Linked DNA regions of Homo sapiens: all the other regions are linked to region 3. Evidence: promoter capture Hi-C in 16 types of primary human blood cells and fetal thymus (Javierre and others, 2016). All regions are on one chromosome and are shown on one strand. The core of a region is centred on a gene start or on the middle of the fragment in contact, and the rest is flanking DNA. Distances in the headings are between cores, read along the strand shown. Region 1 holds the start of ZNF154 (zinc finger protein 154). Region 2 holds the start of ZNF135 (zinc finger protein 135). Region 3 holds the start of ZFP28 (ZFP28 zinc finger protein).

Region 1 (4,599 bases), core at 547-3,046, 1.2 Mb before region 3:
AGAATTAAAAAGAAAATTTTATATTCGAGTGCTATTTATTTTGCGGCTCCAAAACTTTATAACAAAGCAGCAGAGATTTCTCGGCCAGGCTCGGTGGCTCATGCCTGTAATCCCAGCACTTTGGGAAGCCGAGATGCGTGGATCACCTGAGGTCAGTGGTTCGAGACCAGCCTGGCCAACATGGTGAAACCCCGTCTCTTCTAAAAATACAAAAATTAGCTGGGTGTCATGGCGTGCGCCTGTAGTCCCAGCTACTTGGGAGGCTGAGGCAAGATAATCGCTTGAACCCAGGAGGTGGAGAGGTTGCAGTGAAACAAGACTGCGTCATTGCACTCCAGCCTGGGCAATAAGAGTGAAACTCCATCTCAAAAAAAAAGAAAAAAAAAAAAGAAGAGATTTCTCACCTATATACCCTGAGTGTCTCTGCAGCCAGCAAAGCAGATGAAGGCCTGCTGGGTTGGAGCCCTAGGCCCTCCAATGCTGAAATGCCCTGTGAAGTCTCCATCCATCCAGGCACTCTAGTAACCTGCTTCTTCTGCCTGGAATTTATTCTAAAAATACCCACATGGCTCATTTCTCACTTCCTTCAAGTGCATTTCACCGGCTTTCTGATTAAGAAGTCCCACCTCTCCCCTTTGTCTCTTATCAAAGTAGCATTTCTTTCATTGTTTTTTGAGATTGATGTTAGACTTCTAGAAGGAATATATCTCAGATATCAAGTAAGAATTATGAAATGGATAAAAGCGTTGCTCAGTGAATTGGACACAGTTATTGACTGGACACAGTAATTGGACACAATAATTGACTATGCAGGCAAAAGATGTTTTCTGTTGGAATCAGACAGAATTCTACCTTTGTACTACTGTTTCAAGGTGATCTAACATTTCTCTTCTATCTTCTAGAAGCACTATCATGCCACTATCTGAAGTAGTTTTTCACCTGTCCCTGACCAAAAGTGCACAGACTGACTTCAATGCTTCGGAGTGCATACATTTGAAATGTAATATGATAGAGGCTGGGTACGGTGGCTTACGCCTGTAATCCCAGCACTTTGAGAGGCCGAGGCGGGCAGATCACCTGGGGCCAGGAATTTGGGACCACCATAGTGAAACCCTGTCTCTACTGAAAATACAAAAAATTAGCCTGGCGTGGTGGCGCGCGCCTATAGTCCCAGCTACTTGGAAGGTTGAGGCACGAGAATCGATTAACCCGGGAGGCGGAGGTTGCAGTGATCCCAGATGGCGCCGCTGCACTCCAGCCTGGGGGACAGAGGGAAACTTTGTCTTAAAAAAAAAAAAAAAGGAATAAACTTATATGGTAATGTTTATTAGCTTCCCTACTAGTGGATATATTTCGTGTCTGAATGGCTCTATGGAATGATGTACATATTTGGATTGGCAGCCTTAGGGAGCGTCTGATAATAATTTTAGCCTCTGGGAGCCTGCTGAACTTTATGAAGTTTGAAATAATATTCCCCAAACACTTGGGTGATCAGTTGCAGATGGCACCTCTAATATGCTGTCTGATTACGACCCATTTAAGAAAGGGCGAAGTCCCTCCACTGCCCTAGGACTTGGATAAGCCATTTCTCATCGCCCAGCGCCCTGGAGCTTCGCTTTTACTCCAAGAGGTTGGTGCAAAGGGTCCCCGGCACCCACCTCGGGATCTATGAAAACTACATTACCTAGAATGCTCTGCGTTGAACGCCACGCTACTAAGCCAGTAAGAGCTCAGAAAACCGACTTTCCTTGAGAGTCACAAAAAGAAAGGACGGGACTTTTGGGGGGGCCTCTTCGTGGCGGCCATTTTAGCTTCTCTGAGGTGTGTTCACCGGATCAGAGATAGCAGAGCGCCGAGTTGGGGCCACGAAGGCGTGAGGGGAGTCGTCGTCCCTCCTGCACGAAAGCGTCTAAGCCTTGGCGACGCCGCCCTGGGGGACCCACGTCAGGCCTGGGATAGGGACCGCTGTCCCCGGGTCCCTACCAATGTCGCCCGTCGCTCCCGGCCCAGCTCTACCCGCAGAGTCTGATGGCAGCGGCCACTCTGAGGACGCCAACTCAGGTGAGTGCGGCGTCTTCCCGTCCTCACACACCTTCCCCCACCCACGTTCTAAAGCCATCAGTGAGGGGCGCCTGCTCGAGTCCCCGCTGCCCAGGGTCGGGGACACTGAGGCGTTCGTGGGTGGGGCCCTTTTTTTGACACTGCGTGTGACGAGGTGTGGGAGAGCGTGACAGGCGGAGGAACCGGCGCGTGCAAAGGTTGAGGCGCGACTGAGCCAGGAGAATTCGGAAAGCTGTTTTCTGCAGGGAACGAAGAATATGAGGCGGAGTTACTCCTAGGGTTGTACTGTCATTGTGAGGATGCTAGAAGCCACGGAGAGTTCTGAACAAAGGAGGGACGCCATTTATGTTAGTTTTTTTTTCTTTGAGACGGAGTTTCGCTCTTATCGCCCAGGCTGGAGTGCAATGACGCGATCTCGGGTCACTGCAACCTCCGACTCCCGGGTTCAAGCGATTCTCCTGCCTCAGCCTCCCCAGCAGCTGGGATTACAAGCCTGCAGCTGGGATTACAACGTCCGGCTAATTTTTTGTATTTTTAGTAGAGACGGGATTTCACCATTTTGGCCAGACTGGTCTGGAACTCCTGACAAGTGATCCTCCTGCCTCGGCCTCCCAAAGTGCTGGGATTACAGGCGTGAGCCACCGTGCCCGCCCTATGTTAGGGTTTAAAAACTTTTCCAAAGACTGTTCACAGGAAGAGCAGCGATGGGGCGATGAGGACATTGAGATAGTGGGAGGCTACATCTTTTTTTCATTGCCCTACAGTTGGCAAGAGGTGACAGCACTGAGACCAGAAAGTAAAACAGCCAGCCTGAGTTCAGGGCCAGGCAGGGCTACAGGGAGGCTTGAGCTCATCTAGCCTCACCAGGGATGCATTCCTCTTTCCCTGGTTCTCCCAGTTGTAGAAGGGCGTATGGAACTCACATAGGGAAGTGGAGAGTGTTCGGTCCCTCAGTAGCCTCTACCCCCATGTTCTTGGGATTGTGGTTTCCTAGTATTCTTAAGTGCTGTTACCCCAATCCTGGGTCTGGTGCCCTGGAGAAATTCCAAGCCCAGGGCTCTTAAGTCCATGCCAGAGGTTACAGGGGTTATACTGAGGTGTTCCCATTTTTGTCAGCCAGTGGAAACTTGTGAAAGGTTATCTCTGGCACTGGTATCAGGAGGCGCAAGTGCTTAGTAAAACTAAGCTGAGATTTTTGAGGAAACCATAGATCTGTTTCCTTTTAGCTGGGAACAAAGAGCAGGGGGAAGGAGTCAGGACTGCAGTGGCTGCCTGAGAAGTTGGGTACCTATTCTGGAGGTAATGAGAGATTTGGGTTACAAGAGGGAGGTGATCTTACCAAAGTCCTAACAGGGTCCATCCCGTTAGCGTGGAGAGCAGACTGTGGGGTTGAGGGAAGAGGAAAGAAGATCAGAGTGGAAGCTACAGCCAGTCCAGGGTAATGGACCAGAGTCATTGATTAGGAGATGTGTTGCATTCTGGATGCAAATTTTTAAAGGGAGCAACTAAATTTTCTGATGTAGACAGCGAGGGAGTGAAACAGGATTCAGCGATGACCCCATGGTTCTTCAACTGAGATGGAGAAGTTGGTATTAACAGTAATATTCACTGGAGACAACAGGAGCTTTATTTGGTCATGTAAGAGTTTGAGATGTTTCAGAGACATTAAGTAGGCATTAAGTAGGTGGCTGAACACCCAGGTCTGGAAATCTGGGGAGTGCTTCAGAATGGAGACATCCAAAATGTGGTGGTCATTGTGTGGACTAAGGTGAGTGAGCTGTGGATTACATTTAGAAGGGTTGTTCTATTTTTTTTTTTTTTTTTTGAGATGGAGTGTCTCTCTTGTTGCCCAGGCCAGAGTGCAATGGCGCGAGCTTGGCTCACCACAACCTCCGCCTCCCGGCTTCAAGCAATTCTCCTGCCTCAGCCTCCCGAGTAGCTGGGATTACAGGCATGCGCCACCACGCCCGGCTAATTTTGTATTTATTTAGTAGAGACAGGGTTTCTCCATGTTGGTCAGGCTAGTCTTGAACTCCCAACCTCAGGTGATCCACCCGCCTCAGCCACCCAGAGTTCTGGGATTACAGGCGTAAGCCACCGCATCCGGCCTACAAGGGTTAATCTTTAGGCATGGTGGTACAGGTTATTTGGCCAGGAAGGGCAGAATGGGGGCTAAGGACCAAGCCTTTTGGTTGGATAAGTGGGTGATATTCTTGGGCTTTCTAAACAGAGGTAAGGGAGGTTAGTGGCTATGGAGGTAGGGTGTTTGGAGAGGATAGTTGGGCAGGTGGCATACACTTTCAAGGGAAGAGTGGATATAAGGTGGATGCAGAGGCATAGGTGTATTTGAGGCAAATGGCTGTCCTTTTTTTCCTTTGTGCTTATTCAGCACTCTGTGGAATCACCAGGATTTTTTGATGACTTTGATGGGGCCTAGGGTGTTTATTCAACCTGGAGGATAAGGCCAGGTGCCAATGTGGTCATCTGTGACAGTCACTTGGCCTGGGGTAGGTGATCAGTGGAGCTAGTCTTTGAGTG
Region 2 (4,373 bases), core at 297-2,796, 1.5 Mb before region 3:
TTAATTTTTTAGAGACAGGGTTCCACTGTCATTCAGGCTGGAGTGCAGTGGCACATCATGGCTCACTGCAGCCTCCAACTCCTGGGCTCAAGCAATCCTCCCCCATAGCTGGGATTACAGCTACAAGCCATCGCACCAGTCCCCTTGTACGGGTTTTCTGACATTCCTACAGGAGGCTGGTTTCTTCTGGTGGCTTATGGGTGGGGTTAATGTCATCATAAAAAGGCGAGTTCCGCCCCCTTGGCCTCCATGACGTCTGAGGAAGCGGCACTCGATGCGCCATCTTGGAGCGCAGAGCATGCTAAGGCCTTCAACTTCAGACTGCAGAGCCGGGGCACCTACAATTTTCTGACATCACCCAGCCTCAGGTATGCAATGACGGCCGCACAAACATAAAGCCCACTCAGACAGGGACCCGTGCCCGCTGACCTCCAGCGCGGCGTGGGCGGTCCTTTCAGAGGCAGGCTGTGGTTGGGGAGCTTGGCGCGGACTTTAGGAGGCCGGGTGTGCAGGTAGAGGCCGGACACGAGTAGAGGCTAGATGTGCAAATAGAGGCCGGGCACGAGTAGAGGCCGGGCACCAGTAGAGGCCAGGTGCGCGAGTAGAGGCCAGTTGTGCGAGTAGAGGCCGGGCACGAGTAGGGGCCGGGCACGCAAGTAGGGGCCGGGCACAAGGAGGAGGCTGAGCGCGAGTAGGGACGGGGTGCAAAGAGGAGGCCGGGCGTGAGAAGGCCGCGCGCGAGGAGGCCGGGCACGAGGTGGAGGACACGCGCAAGGAGGCCGAGATTCTCACCGGGTCTGTGGAGACGCGCACCCCAGGGGTCATGCCCTGGCTTCTGGCAGGAACGGCTGGCCCTGCTCTGTGGGAAAGGGGAGGTGAGCAGCTGGGGCAGGCAGAGGCGGTGCTCAGGTCCCCAAGCCGGGGAACTGCGCCAGAGCCTGGGGAGCTCCGCGGAGAGCCGTCCAGGGCCCCGCGTACCCGTTTAAGCGCCTGCTGTGTGTGGGGCGGCCCTCCGCTCGGAGAAGGGCAGCCTAGGGTTTTCCCGCCTGTCTGAGGGAAGCTGAAGGCCTGGCGGGTGCGGACACATATCTGCTGCGCAGACTCTGAGCCTTAACGCTACAGTGACAAGGGCCGGGTGGTTGCGGTCCCCTGGCCCTGGGCACTATGCCTCAGTTTCTCTCTTCCATCAACAAAGGTGGCGGCCCAGTGCCCGGTGTGGGGCAGAGGTGGGGCCAGGGGCGGGGCGCGCGTTCCCTCAGGGGCCGTCGGAGCAGCTCCTGTCCAGCTGGGCGTTGGGCCCCGCCCTCCTCTCAGACTAGGGATGCCCCGCAAAGCCTGCCCCCGCCAGCCCCGAAACGGCCTTCCCCAGGCCCCGGGCAGCAAAACGGACTCCACACAGACGCGCGCTGCTGGAAACTCGCCCCGCCAGGGCCTCAGGAAGATCCCCGGACCCCCCGCACCCGGCCCGGCCCGGCCCGGCCTGGCCTCCCCTCCCCCTCCTCGCCGGCCTAGCTCACCCTCCTGACTGCGAGACAAAGGCCGCGGCACCGGCAGCCGACACTGCGCCGGCGCGAGCCTAACTCCATTTCCCAGAGAGCCGCGCGCGCATTTCCGGCCGCCCTCCCCCACCTCGCTCTCGCCCTTGGCGTTCGTGAGCTCTCAGTGCTGCTGGAGCTGGAGTGACTGGGCCTGGTGAAACAGGGCGCGCGGGGTGCCTGGGCATCAACGCGGGATAAGTGCCGCTTGGAACGCCGTGAGCTCCCGGCGCGACCACACGGGCTTTCGTGTTGGAAACTCTACCGTCAGTTTTACTGCTGCAAACAAAGCAATGATTTTTTCAAAACACATACTTTCAACCAAAACATTCACCAAGATCGCACACACGGGAGTCTTTGCATTTTCCACACTGAGGCAGCCATGGAGACTTCACACTGTATTTATTACATGGTTATAAGGAACATCACGTGCAAGACACTAACAATTATGACGACTTTGGACATTGCTAGGTAATTGTCAAAATTGTGCATTTGAACAGCAGCAAAATATTCAAAGCTGGTGTGCCCTCGCTGACACGAAATGAATTGTCATTTTCTGAACATTCACCAAAGCCTGCCAGGCGCTAGGCCTAGGTTCAGCAGCACACAATAGTGAAGCCCCCATTCAAGCGGGCTTCGTTTCACCAGCGTACGTCACACGTCCGTGGAGCAGCGAGACCAGAGGAGCTGGGAAAGCCAGGGCTGAGCCTTGTGCTTTTGCCCTTTTAAGGGAGGACAGATTAATTCCAATCAGCCTGGGCTTGGGAGCTGTATTTGAAGCAGAGGAAAAGTTTTAAGACGGGCATTTTTTTTTCTTTGACTGAAACAACTCTGAAAACAGCAGAGAACACAATACGAATTCTCGTACCACACACAGACACTTGCAAAGATTTGGCTGGTTAACACACAAGTTAAGACTTTAAATTTCATAAGCCCTAAAACAGTGGCAATTATGAAGAGATATAATGGCTCAAAATCATAATGCACTGATGTAAACAAAGCAAAGGCAAGCTTCTTGGCTTTTAAGGGCGTCCTGTACATTCCAAGTACTGTAAAGCCCCACATTTGTGACCGTCGCACTGAAAGCCAGCCTGCTTTTCACTCTACAGCAGTAAAGAGGCTTTCCATTATACATAAAATGCCGTTTTTCAGTTCTCGAACTCACAAACCCAAATGCCACAAAACATCTTTTTGTGTATTTTTTCTTTCACAAAATGTATACTCTTGCCCCCCACCCCCACCCCCAACCGTTTCCTTTTACTGGATCAAAAGGTATGAACACACAACTCATGGTGAAGTCTTTTTCCCAAGCGGTCTGATAGTCCTGGTGAGAAGCTGTCAGTGGTGCCACACTGAGCCTGCTCAGCCCTGATGGTGGCCAGGCGGCCCTGCCCAGCTCCCTCAAACTTGCCCCTCTGTTTCCTCCCTCAGACCTTCTGATCCTCTGTTTTTCTCAGCCAGGTTTCTAAACCGTACATGCTTTTGCAGGGGCGGGCTCTTTCTACAGGGGCAAGTGCTGCTTGGCTCCAGCCAAGTGGGGTCGTGCGGACTGGCAAGCCCAGCGTCCCAGGTCTGGATTTCTCTAAAGAACCCAGAGATCAGGATTTCTATGTGAAATCTCTTGATTTTTAAAAGCTGGTAGGGATTTCAAAGGCTTTAATAACACTCTACCAGTCAAATAAGATGAGCTGGAGGCTACTCCAGTGCCACCCTTGCTGTGGTCTGAACCTCCTGCTGTCTCTTGTAACCACTGGCTGGGCCCCTCTCAGCTCCTTCTTGGCTTCCTGTACGAATCTCCAAGCAGAGCATTGCTGGTTGCCTCTCTGTGGCCTGGAACAGGACCCCCCACCATGAGCAGGTGGGCTGCACATCAGTACAGCTTCCAAGCAATCCTGCAATCACAGCATGGATAGCAGAACTGTGTCATGCTGTATGTTAATGTTCAAAAAGTTAATCTGTTCAACACATACATTTAAAATATACTGTAACAGTTACAGCTCCCTGGACATATTTCTCCCTTTAAAAAAAAAATCTTTTTGACAGCTTCAAAACCTGGCAGTGTCCAGGCCTCCTCTGACCCAAGAGACCCTGGCTGCCAGGGAGAAAGGTGGCGTCTGAGACTCCGGTCTTCCAGAGCGTGAAGTGCCCAGGGCTGGGCTCACAGCTCCTGTGACAAGGGCTGGAGGACAGGAGACTGGGGCACATCGTGATGGGGGTGTTGGAGTCTTTGGGGGGTGCTGGCAGAGGAAGGCACAGGGCAAGGGAGGCGTGCTGAGGTGCTGGGGCTTCCACAGCTGGGGTGAACCCAAAGAGAAGAGAGGGGCTAGTGCTCTGTCTCACTGCAGCTCGGGCAGGGGCTTGGGACTGGGCAAGTTAGGTGAAGAACACCACGTGGTGGCTTTCGTGAGTTGCAGCAGCTGCCACAACTGGTCCAGCACCCTGGGCCAAGTCCTTGCTTCTGTCAGCCAAGGTGTAGCACGTGAGAGTGGCCCTCCAGGACCCTGGGCCACGTCCTTGCTTCTGTCAGCCAAGGTGGAGCACACAAGAGTGGCCCTCCAGGATCCTGGGCCACGTCCTTGCTTCCGTCAGCCAAGGTGGAGCACACAAGAGTGGCCCTCCAGGACCCTGGGCCACGTCCTTGCTTCTGTCAGCCAAGGTGGCGCACACAGGAGTGGCCCTCCAGGATCCTGGGCCACGTCCTTGCTTCCGTCAGCCAAGGTGGAGCGCATTGAGAGTGGCCCTCAAGGGGTGGCCCACCTCCCCTCAGAGGTCGAGGGAGGCTTCCCCGGCTGGAAACTGCAGCCCACAATGGTGTCCCGGTGTCTCCACAGGGACTTC
Region 3 (4,069 bases), core at 983-3,482:
GGGAGACTCTCAGGACTTCGGGTCTGGACAGGCTGTCTTGAGTTACCCATCAGACACTCAGGCAGAGGAGTGGAGCAGGATACACAGGCCGGCGGCTCAGAGGAGAGGTTTGGGCTCACAATGTGAATCTGGGAGGAGCCACCATGTGGGTAGGTTGTACAGACAAGGAACAGGCTACTATCCCCAGGAGACAGCATGCAGACAAAAAAAGAAAGGGCCATGAGCAGAGTGCTGAGGCACACTCTGTTCAAGTCACGGAGGTAAGAACTGTGGCAAAAACTGAGCAGTCAGGAAGATGAAAGTCAGATGAGTGTGAGATCCCAGTAGCCAAGGGAAAAAAGGGGGCCTATTGAAGGACAGGGATGAGCTATTTGAGGGATAGGTAGCCACCTGTTTTGTAACTGAAGTTTTACTGGAACACAGCCCATCCATTCATTTACATATTGTCTTTGGCTACTTTAGCTCTATAAGAGCAGAAAGGAGTAGATGCAGCAGGACTTTCAAAGCCTAACATATTTTCTGCTGTGGCCTCATCCAGCACAAGTTTGCCAGCCTCTGAGCTATTTCAAATACCAATGATAGTCAAAAAAGACTAAGAATTGAGCACTGCATCTGGTAATGTGAAGATCACAGTAACCCACTCAAGAGCAGTTTGGGTAGGACAACTGGAAGCTGGTTCATCTGTACATATATTTTTTGAGGCCTCAGTGGAAGTGAAATGGTTCATCTATTAATGAGCTAGCTATGATATTTATAGGAGAAGCCAACCGAAACAAACACAACTATTTACTGGCATGTTTTAAAGCCACAAAATCAAGTGGAAAAGCCTTTCATATTGCGCCTCCTCTCCCTAAAATGTTGTCTTTCTTTACTGTGCCTCCCAAACATCTTCTCTCCCTTCAAGGCAAGGCTCAAAAATCACCTCCTTGGTAAATAGGCCTACCCTTCCGCTACAGGAGGCTGGAAGCCAGGAGCGCCTTGTAGTCCTCGCTCATAATACTTGGCCCAAGGATGATCACATTCTAGAATCTTGCTTGTTTCCTTGACATTGGGTCAACAGGCTGTGAGCTCCAGAGCAGGGACTAGGGCTTAGCTATTGGTTTGCTCAGTGGCTGGCACAAAGTGGTCACCAAACAAACCATGTATAGCAGAAGAGTCTGCCGTGTTCCTCAAGGGGCACAATTCCTCCATCAGAGTCCCTCTGAGAAAAGCGGTACAAGGGAGAGGCTGAATCATTTCATCAATCAAGAATGAAGGCTGATTGGGATGAAGAAGAAGCAGGCATCGAGGCCCCGGGCAGTTTAAACTTTTCCCCGTAGCCCATCACTTCACTAGAACGTGAAGAAATAGAAACCCGCGCCCAAACAGGTCTCTTAAACTGAAAACTTTCAAGAAAATAAGCAACATTAAGTCCCGAAAAGCAAGACTGCATTTCAGAGACAAGAGATGAAATGCCAACTCACCTGGGACATGGCTTTAGGTTCAATTCCTGTCCCCACAGCCTCCAGCTTCTTGTTTCTCTCCTGGGGAAGAGCAGTGTCCCTGGAAGGCAGAGCTGAAAGAGAAAGGAGTAGCTAGAGACCAGGTCTACACCACAGTCCCAAATCACCAGCCTAGAAACGTCCCTTCCTGCATGAAAAGGTGGGATCAGATCATTACCCTGCCTAGGGACTGCCACAACGTGGAGATAGGTTTTTTTCCTCCCTGGGAGCACGAAAACAGGAAAAGCGTCTAGTTAGAGTCACCCTGGGAAAGTCAACACCCTTTTACCGCGGCTTGCTGCTCTGAATCAGTTGAGCTTCCAAATCTTCAGATTCTCCCACTCCACCAGCTTCAAAGACCAGGGGCACAGTTCTCCAGCAACTGGTCCCCGAGAGCCCAACCCCCTCCCAGATCTCATCCCGAGATGAATTCGTCCCTGTCCGCTCGGCCCCAAACACCTGTCACTCTCACCTCTGTGCCCAGGCCCCGTAGGGGCCGCTCCTCGCTGGCCTTTGGATGCGAGGCCATTCCTTGAGCGCGGCCTTCCCCGGGCAGGGAGGGCCAAGGTGGCTGGAGTCCCTACAGTCGGGCCTCGGCCCGCCCGGGGCTTTGTGCGGGGGGCGCCTCTACCCGGGAGCGGCGTCGGCTCGCGGACACTCGCGCTCGCCGCCCCCCGCATGTCACCCGAGGCCGCGCGACGCCCTTCCGACCGGTCCCTCACAGACCCACACCCCTGGCCACACCCGCCCGCCACGCCCAGCGAACAGCCCCGCGCGCGCTCCCCCATGGCCCGGCATCCACTGGGCCGCGCCGCGGAGCCGCCCCGCCCCCGGCCGCGCCCCGCCCCTCCCCACCCCTCCCCGCTGCCCCGCCCCGCCCCGCCCCGCCCCGCCCCGCCCCGCCCCGCCCCGCCCCGCCCCGCCCCGCCCCTCAGCCTAGAGAAGCCCGGCGCTTCCCACTTCCAGTGCGCAGGCAGCGCCGCCGGAACCGGGCGTGGCCTCGGCGCAATGCCCGCTGGGAAGCGTAGTCCCAAGCAGGGACGGATGCGGCGGCCCTCGGAGCTCAGGTTGCAAGATACGGTTTGGCCCCGGGCCTATGCAACGCCCGTCCGTCCTGCCCTCTGCGGGTCGCTCTCACTTGTCCCTGGACCGCAGCCGCCGCATAAGTGGTGGCCAACGCTGGGCCTGGGTGTGGCCGGAAGCAGAGGCCGCTCTGACTACACACCCACCCCCCAAAGGCTTCTGGGAGTCGCGCAGGCGCAGCGGCAGACCGGGTGAGGCGGGGCTTGCGGCGAGGGGTGGGACCGCAGGGCCGGAGTAAAAGGGTGCTTGGCTGTGACAGGTGCTAAGGGCCTGGGCGTCAGCTCCTTGCGGGAGCGTCACTGCCGACCGGGAAGGGAAAGGCAATCTTGGGGGCCTCCGGAGTCCGGAGGATCACTCTGATGGGTGATGTGTGTGGGCTAGGAAGGGGGATGTAGAGAGCTTGTGGGATTGTTTTGGGTGCCCCCTCACCTTCTCCCATTATCTCTGGCTACACGGGCCTCCCATCCTCCAAAATACCATTTTCCATTTTGTAACCTATGTATTTGCACGTCCTGGGTCGAAATAGTCTAACCCCAAATTTTCGTCTGGGCTGGCTCCTTTATGCCATTCACTTGTCATCGCCTCAGAGAGGGCTGCCTAACGTCTCAAAAATACCAGCCCTGGCGACCTCTTAAAGTTCCCTTCCTGTGTGAATCACGGTCTGAAGTTAGCTGATGGATTTATTCTTGAACATGTTTAGGACCGGTCTCTCCCCCAGGGGCCTTATCAGAACTGGAGAGCTTCATCCTGGGAGCCAAGGGCCTTGCTGGCTCACAGGCAGTGATGCTGTTACACCAGTCATCACAGATGCACTGACCTCTGCACGCCCAGTCACACTGCACGCCTGGTCTCCTTACTCTTGAATTGATTTCTTTCAGGTCTCCTGGCCTCAGTGATGGAATTAAGATGACTTCTATCTCTGAATCCAAGGGTGACTGAAAGCCGCAAGCTGCAGAAAGGACAAGGTCAGCATTTCTCTCAAAGCACTTCAGTCTCATAGAAAAGGCTTAGTTTCAGTCAGGTGGACCTAGCCATGTAATAGCTGTGGCAGACACTGCTAATGGTCTCTCTGGTGTCTATTTTGCACTCCTTCCACAGCAGAACATTGATGCTCTTCAAGTGGCCATCTGCCCAGCTTATAATACTCACCTCCCCAGTCTCCTTGTAAGGAGTAGTGGCTCTGTAACCAATGAATTTTAAGTACACATTTGCTGGGGGTTTGGTGGATGTGTGGAAAGAGACACAGCTGGCATGTAACTCTGGCCTTTTGTCATCTCACACAACCTTCTTCCTGCTTGGGTATGACACAGGATGTCAACAGGTAGAACAGCTGTAGAGAGCTGGCAAAGGGATCGTGGCCAACTCAACATTCCACTGGAGGCTATATGATCAAACAGCAAACTGTTTATCATGAATGCAGAATGTGGGCAAAGTCGCTTCTGCTCCAGCCACCAGAAGGTTTGCTGAAGGCAATCACTCCCTGGTGTCATGCTCCTTGAGGTTAT

Evidence for each region. Contacts are between HindIII fragments. The CHiCAGO score rates a contact against its expected background, and 5 or more counts as called.
Region 1: a contact is called between the fragment with the promoter of ZNF154 here and the fragment with the promoter of ZFP28 in region 3, in 1 of 17 cell types (neutrophils). The highest score is 5.6, in neutrophils.
Region 2: the fragment with the promoter of ZNF135 here is called in contact with the fragment with the promoter of ZFP28 in region 3 in 3 of 17 cell types (fetal thymus, naive CD8 T cells and activated CD4 T cells); the score reaches 6.3 in fetal thymus.

What each region holds. Positions count from the first base shown.
Region 1 is chr19:57,706,401-57,710,999 of GRCh38, reverse strand. It overlaps ZNF154 (zinc finger protein 154), which reads left to right and starts at 1,796. Exons shown (of 3, transcript NM_001085384.3): 1 at 1,796-2,061. The coding sequence starts at 2,029. RefSeq lists enhancers at 1,616-1,675, 1,696-1,825, 1,569-2,208. The HindIII fragment of the contact is 9,236 bases long and covers 1-4,599 here.
Region 2 is chr19:58,056,455-58,060,827 of GRCh38, reverse strand. ZNF135 (zinc finger protein 135) reads right to left here and starts at 1,546. Exons shown (of 5, transcript NM_001289401.2): 1 at 1,518-1,546; 2 at 793-859. The coding sequence starts at 825. It also overlaps a transcript of ZSCAN1 not described here. The HindIII fragment of the contact is 3,956 bases long and covers 1-2,548 here.
Region 3 is chr19:56,537,111-56,541,179 of GRCh38, reverse strand. ZFP28 (ZFP28 zinc finger protein) reads right to left here and starts at 2,232. Exons shown (of 8, transcript NM_020828.2): 1 at 1,954-2,232; 2 at 1,464-1,555. The coding sequence starts at 2,161. It overlaps ZFP28-DT (ZFP28 divergent transcript), which reads left to right and starts at 2,446. Exons shown (of 3, transcript NR_183967.1): 1 at 2,446-2,755; 2 at 3,443-3,529. The HindIII fragment of the contact is 11,931 bases long and covers 1-4,069 here.